2 separate regions of the Homo sapiens genome follow, and region 2 is linked to region 1. Evidence: promoter capture Hi-C in 16 types of primary human blood cells and fetal thymus (Javierre and others, 2016). All regions are on one chromosome and are shown on one strand. The core of a region is centred on a gene start or on the middle of the fragment in contact, and the rest is flanking DNA. Distances in the headings are between cores, read along the strand shown.

What was found. The method cuts DNA at HindIII sites, captures the fragments that hold promoters and counts their contacts. A CHiCAGO score of 5 or more calls a contact.
Region 2: a contact is called between a fragment that was not itself captured here and the fragment with the promoter of CD48 in region 1, in 1 of 17 cell types (fetal thymus). The highest score is 5.8, in fetal thymus.

What each region holds. Positions count from the first base shown.
Region 1 is chr1:160,709,684-160,713,487 of GRCh38, forward strand. CD48 (CD48 molecule) reads right to left here and starts at 2,139. Exons shown (of 4, transcript NM_001778.4): 1 at 1,999-2,139. The coding sequence starts at 2,080. RefSeq lists enhancers at 2,388-2,567, 3,108-3,167. The HindIII fragment of the contact is 2,140 bases long and covers 1,514-3,653 here.
Region 2 is chr1:160,843,950-160,847,753 of GRCh38, forward strand. The region is part of intron 1 of CD244 (CD244 molecule); the gene reads right to left. Among named protein-coding and RNA genes, the nearest start is that of CD244, 17 kb to the right of the region's middle. The HindIII fragment of the contact is 5,513 bases long and covers 1-3,804 here.

The DNA.
Region 1 (3,804 bases), core at 889-3,388:
GAAGCATCCCTTACGGCAGAGGAGAGAACTACTTGCACTTCTCAGGAAGATATGGATGTGTAGTCCAAAAGGAAGTTTTTTGAAGTTGTTCATTCATTTGTGTAACAATTATTTATTGAGCACATGCCACACTCCAGGCCTGTGCTAAGTTCAGCAGCACAACACTGCACATGGTTTCTGTCCTCAAAAAGTTCAAGGAAACAGATGATCCACCAAGCAATTCACAAACCATAATCTGGAGCCTGAGGTTCCCATCTAACCATGCCTTCAGAACACAGTCACAGGCAGACAGTCCAAGAAGAAGTCACATAAAAACAGAAGCCTAAAAGAGAGGCAGGGAGAGGGCAGGAGGGAGAGAAATCTAGGTGGAAAGAAGGCATGTACATAAGCCCAGAGGTAAGAGAAAACGCCTCTTTTAAGGCAAACAGTAAAATTAAGAGATTTAGACACATTGACCTTCACCAAGATTCCCTCGCCTTAGTCTAGGAAAGGTATAATCATAATAGAATGGTTTGGAAGTTAGACCTGTGTGCCCTTAGGAGAATTTCTTAATCTCTCTGCAAGACAGTATTCTCATCTGAAAAATGTAGATAATAATAGCCACCTCACTATTTTCTAATGAAAGTTAAATGAAAAAGTATGCAAAAGGCCTAGCACAATGTCTGACACACAGTAAGTGCTTAATTTGTATTTTACTAACCCAGGTTATAGCCCGGGTGTTATAACCCAGGTTTACTAACCTCATCAAAACCAATATTATCCATTCAAAGGATAACATAATCAGGTGTGGTCTGATTGTTTCAAAGAAGAATAAATGACCAAGATGAAGCCTAGAAAAGAAGTCAGAGAAAGGTCAACTGTCAGGATGTTTTCAGTATGCCTAGAGAAAGTCCTAAAATATTCCAATTCTCATTGGCAACCCTGCTTTTCCCAATAGTTAGATGAATACTTCACATCAGCCCCCAATCCCAAGGTCATACCAATGTCCTATGCATTGAGTCAGGCCCACAGAACCTATATAGCCGTAGACTCACACAGTCATGAACCAAAGGACTCTACCTGAGAGGTAGAATATGTGAGAGACCGATCCTCCACACATTCTACCTCATCTCCCCAAAAGTTACAAACTATCATCATTTTATGCCACAGTGTGACTACCACATGTTTGTTGATTTTTACTGTTTTACTCAGAGTGGTGAGCATTAAAGCCCTTTAAATTAAAAAGACTTGAGTATTTACTTGGGGGAATAGCAAGAAAGTCAAAGGTTTCACTGCTGTTTCTCAGCTGGCATAAGAAGAGAGGTACTGGATGAAGAAAGAGGGTGAGGCAGCTCTAACAGGAGAAGGAAAGTTAGCTCAGCCCTTGGTCACACACCGGGGACCGAACAGGCTGTGGCAGAGGAATGGACCTTAACTCTTAGCAATCAGATGTGTTAAGGTTCCTTTGATGCTGAAGCACTTCCAGCCTCTTCTCAGACCCTCATTCAGAGACCCCAGACAGCAATCCTTTCCAAGCTTTTCTTCCTATAATTTTGATCTATCTTTTCTTTGGGTCAATGACAATATCATTTACCTTGGCTCAGGATGCAACACCTCACATATACAGAGGTCTCAAAGAATGCCTAAGGGAGTACAGTGTGTCTGAGCATAAAATGCAGCAGCTGTCAGTGTAGAGCTTCTTCTTATTCAAAATGAAAAAACAAACACTTTTCCACAACTTCATGGACCACCAACCACGGGACAAAATATGAGGAGCCTACTTCTCTTGCTCCCCAGGTTCCTGTTTTGATCACATCCCCGTGGGAAAGGAGATGAAGCTCCATTCATCAGTGCTAAGAAAGGCTCCCCAACCATGCCATGGCCATGCTATTGGAATGGAAATACCTGCTTTCCAGACACCAGATCTGGCTTCTAGGGTTGAACTACATCCCGTCTCCCCTTTCCCAACTGACCATGCCTTCAGTGCACAATCACAGATACACAGTTGGTGGAAAGTACCTTGAATGCTGGTCACCAGGAGTGACAGAGGCAGCAGTAGCAATTCCAGAGCCAGACACGAATCCCAACCTCTGGAGCACATGCTTCCTTCCAGAACTTCCCAGCAACGCAGGAGACAGTTGAGAGCCTGGCTAGAAAAAGGCCGGGGCTAAAAACGGAACTTACCAAACAGGGTTAGAGAGAAAAAAAAAAAAACCACTGAGATTTTCTCTCCACCCAGCACACTTGTGTGGGGCCCCAGAAACCAGAAACCGGAGGTCTTGTAAATTTTTTTATCTAAGAGCATCACGGAAACTGAGAACAATTTTGTTTGAAGGTACATGAGTGCTTTTTTGTAGGGGGAAGATTCATAGCTTCTACTGTACTCTCAGGGGGGCCAGTACTCAGAAAAGAATAAGGGACCCTGATAGAGAATGTCTGCTTTTCGTTCCCAGGCAGGAATCCCTCTGATTAATTCAGGGGCTAAGACATAGGAGCTTCCCAGTCAAGCCTGGGTAGGTGTCATTCAGAGCCTGAAGTCTGGGAAATCAGACCCACGTAGCCTTTGTGCTGCATATCTTACCCCCAGCACCACCCTCTGCTCTTCTTCCTTTATGATAATTCACTATTTGAAGTTTGACATCAGCCTATCCACTGAACATCAGAAAAAAAGTAAGATTACTTGGCCCAAAAGAATGGATTTCCCACCCTTGTAGTCTGTATTAGTCTGTTCTCACACTGCTAATAAAGACATACCCCAGACTGGGTAATTTATAAAGGAAAGAGAGGGGTTTTGTTTTGTTTTGTTTGTTTTGGTTTTTTTTTTTTTTGAGATGCAGTCTCACTCTGTAGCCCAGACTGGAGTGCAGCAGTGCAATCTCAGCTCACTGCAACCTCCACCTGACAGGTTCAAGCAACTCTCCTGCCTCAGCCTCCTACATAGCTGGGATTACAGGCAAGCACCACCATGCCCAGCTAATTTTTGTATTTTTAGTAGGGTTTCACCATGTTGGCCCGGCTGGTCTTGAACTCCTGACCTCAAGTGATCCACCTGCCTCAGCCTCCCAAAGTGCTGGGATTATAGGCATGGGCCTGTGCCTGGCCAGGAAAGTGGTTAAATTGACTTCTAGTTCAGCATGGCTTGGGAAGCCTCAGGAAACCTACAATCATGGTGCAAGGGGAAGCCAATACGTCCTTCTTCACACGGTGGCAGGAAAGAGAAGCACTGAGCAGCAATGGGGAAAGCCCCTTCCTTATGAAACCATCAGATCTAGTGAGAACTCACTATCACGAGAACAGCATGATGGTAACTGCTCGTATGATTAACTTACTTCCTACTGGGTTGCTCCCATGATATGTGGGGATTATGGGAACTACAATTCAAGATGAGATTTGGAAGGGAACACAGCCAAATCATATCATGTCTAGGAAATTTCAAGCTCATTCCTATTGAATGTAAATTAGTTATTTGCCCACCCAGGACCCACAGGCAAGCCACAGTTCCTGATATAACATATTTGTAATCACTTTTTAATTGGGGACATTTCTGATTCTCAACATGGAGATGAACAATAAAATGTCTGCTCTTCTCAGTCCTCAAACCTGAAGGACATTATGTTAAGTGAAATAAGTCATGCACAGAAAGATAAAAAACCACGTTCCCAATCATATATGGAAGCTTAAAAAATGAGCTCATAGAAGTAGAGAGTAAAATTGTGGTTATCAGAGGCTGGGAAGGGTAGAGGGAAGTGGAGGATGGGAAGAAGTTGGTTAATAGATACAAAGTTACAGCTAGAGAAGAGGAATAAGTTCCAGCATCCTGTAGCA
Region 2 (3,804 bases), core at 839-3,338, 130 kb after region 1:
TACATAAAATCCATCAGTGTTGAGGTTGGTACCACAGAGGGCTATACCCAAAGAGTAAGAGTGAACGAGAAATGAACAGCCCTCACAGGAACTGAAGCTCAATTTTGAATCATCACAACCCTGGATTGAACTAATGATCTGGAATCTCTGGTAGCCCTAACCTGGCTGCCAACTAGAGGCAAATATAAGTTATGACTAGAGGAAAATAACATCAACCAGAGCATTAAATTATTCCTAGAATGTTTCATACACAATATCCAAAGTGAAGTATAAGAAAAGGAAACATCTCCAAAAACCAACAGAAGAATAGAGACAACAGAAACCAACAAACAGGGCATCTACATAATAGAGTTGTCAGTCATAAACTTTAAAGTAATCATGTCTAATATGTTCAAGGAAATAAAACATAAGTTTAAGAATTTCAGCAGAGAACTAGCGTGATAGAATGCAAAAATACCATGTCCTTGCAATGTGACTTTACAGCTCCTTCTGTTATCAAGAAATGGGGTTCATTTCCCTGTCTCTTGGAACTGGGCTGGTCTTCATGATGAAACGCAGCAAAAATGATGTTCTGCTAGTTCTAAGCCTAGATCTGAAAAGGCATTGCACATTTCTACTTGTTCTCTTGGAACCTCATCTGGCTGACCTGTGAACAAGCCTAAAATAGCCTGCTGGAGAATAAGATATCACATGATACAGAGATAAGCCAACACAGCTAAGGCCATTCTAAATCAGCTAGCCCTGGCCTGGTGCGGTGGCTCATGCCCGTAATTCCAGCACTTTGGGAGGCCAAGGCCGGCAGATCACTCAAGGTCGGGAGTTCGAGACCACCCTGGCCAACATGGTAAAACCTCGTCTCTACTAACGATACAAAAATTAGCCAGACATGGTGGCACACACTTGTAACCCCAGCTACTTGGGAGTCTGAGGCACGAGAACTGCTTGAACCCGGGAGATGGAGCTTGCAGTGAGCCGAGATATCATGCCACTGCACTCTAGCCTGCATGACAGAGCAAGACCTAATCTCAAAAAACAATAAAAAATAAATAAATGAATCAGCCACCCGTGGCCAGTCTGGCAGCTGACCACACATGCATGACTGATGCAAGAGGAAACCAAAAGAACCACCTAGCTGAGCCCAGCCCAAATTGCCAACTAGCAGAATCACTAACTAAATAGGTAGTTGTTTTAAACTACTGGATTTTGGAGTAGGTCATTATGCAGCAATAGTTACCTGAAATTGGATTTTTTTTAAAGAATTCAATGAAAATTACAGAAATAAAATGTAAAATAACTGTAAAACAAACTCAATTGAAAGGTTAAAAAGGCCATTTAGATGCCATTGAAAAGAGAATTAGAAAACTGTTATAAAATATCCAGAGTGAAGTAAAGAAAAACAAAAGGATAAAAATACACAAGAAGGAGTGTAAAAGATATTTGAGATATAGCAAAAACAAAACAAAACCCCTAAACTAAGTGTAATTGGAAAGCAAGGAGACGAGAGAGGAAAGAGGAACTAAGCAAAAGAGATAAAAGATAAGAATTTCCCAAAACTGACAAAAGCCATCAAGATAGATTTGTAAAATGTGTTACAAACCCCAAGCAAGATCAAAACAAACCGACAAGCTGGGCACGGTGGCTCACGCCTGTAATCCCAGCACTTTGGGAGGCCCAGGTGGATGGATCACCTGACGTCAGGAGTTTGAGACCAGCCTGGCCAATATGACAAAATCCCATCTCTGCTAAAAATGCAAAAATTAGCCAAGTATGGTGGTGCACACCTGTAATCCCAGCTACTTGGGAGGCTGAGGCAGGAGAATCACTTGAATCCAGGAGGTGGAGGTTGCAGTGAGCCGAGATCACGCCACTGCACTCCAACCTGGGCAACAAGAGTGAAACTCTGTCTCAAAAAAAAAAAAAGAAAAAAAACAAACCAATGAACAAAAGACAACCTCTCAATACATCAAAAAAATTATGGAAACCAAAGATAAATAGAAAAATCGTAAAATAGCCAGAGTGGGGGAAAACTAAATTCCCTTCACAAAACAAACAACTTAGCTGACATTTCAGCAAAAATAATAAAAAGCAGATGATGGAATGGTATCTTTTTTTTTTATTTTTCCATAGGTTATTGGGGTACAGGTGGTGTTTGGTTACAAGAGAAAGTTCATTAGAGGTGATTTGTGAGTCGGTGCACCCATCACCCGAGCAGTATACACTGCACTCTATTTATAGTCTTTTATCCCTCACTCCCCTCCCACTTTTCCTCCCAAGTCACCAAAGTCCACTGTATCATTCTTATGCCTTTGCATCCTCGTAGCTTAACTCCCACGTATCAGTGAGAACATACGTTGTTTGGTTTTCCAAGGAATGATATATTTAAAGTGCTGAAAGAAAATAACTGCCTATCTAGAATTTCGGTACTTCAAAGATGAAAGCAGATGCAGTGGCTCATGCCTGTAATCCCCGCACTTTGGGAGGCTGAAGCAGGTGAATCAGTTGAGGTCGGGAGTTGGAGACCAGGCTGGCCAACATGGCAAACCCCATCTCGACTAAAAATACAAAAGTTAGCTGAGCGTGGTGGCACGCGCCCATAATCCCGGCTACTCAGGAGGCTGAGGCACGAGAATCACTTGAACCCAGGAAGTCAAGGCTGCAGCGAGCCAAGATGGTGCCACTCCCCTCCTGCCTGGGTGACAAAGTGAGACTGTCTCAAAAAATAGTAATAATTTTTTAAATGAAGCTGAAATAAAGACATTTTTAGAAAAAATTAAAAACGGAAAGAATTTGTCACAAAAAGGCCTGCAGTAAAGGAAATACCAAAGGATGTTCTTTAGATATAAAGAAAATGGAAACTCAGGCACAAGAAGTGAAAAACAATAGAAACAGATGTAATTTGTGACAATAAAAGTGGGGGGATAGAGCTGTATAGGAGTTTTCTATAGTATTGAGGCTGAATTGGCATCAATTCAAACTATATTGTTGGAGGTATTCATTGTAATACCTGTGGTAACCATTGAGAAAATAACAAAATGTACAGAAAAAGAAATGAGAAGGGAATCAAAAAGATGCAGCACAAAAATATCAATTAAATACAAAAGAAGGCAATAACGGAGAAAATGAACAAAAAAAGACATAAGATGTATAAAAAATATACAGAAATAGAAGGAAATGTCATCATTATAAAAGAACCAATTAAGTAGGAATAAACAATCATCTTCAGTTTCTATGCATATAACAAGTTTAAAATATATAAAATAAAATTTGATAGAACTAAAAGGAGAAGTAAATCCACAACTATAGTTGGAGAGTTTTATTACATCTGTCTCTCTAGCTGCTACAAGAAGCACACAAAAAAATCAATAAGGCTATAAGAATTTGAAGATCATTAAACCAATATATATATAAATTATATATAAAACAATTCTCCTAACAATTGCAGAATACATATTCTTTTCAAGTGCACATGCAATAGTTACCAAAGTATTATCATATGCTGTGCATTAAAACAAGTGTCAACAAAGTTCAAAGTATTGAAATCATACCAATTATGCCCTCTAAGCACAGTAGAATTAAACAAAAAATCAATAACAGAAAAATAACCAGAAAATCTCTGAATGTTTAAAACATAAGAAACATATTTCTAAAAACCCATGAGTCAAAGAATAAATCAAATGAAATTTGGGAAATATTTAGAGCAAAGTGATAATGAGTATCAAATGTGCAATATAGCTAAGGCAGTGTTTAGAGGGAAATTTATAGCTTTAAATTTGTATATTGGAAAAGAAAGAAAGTTTGCAAGTC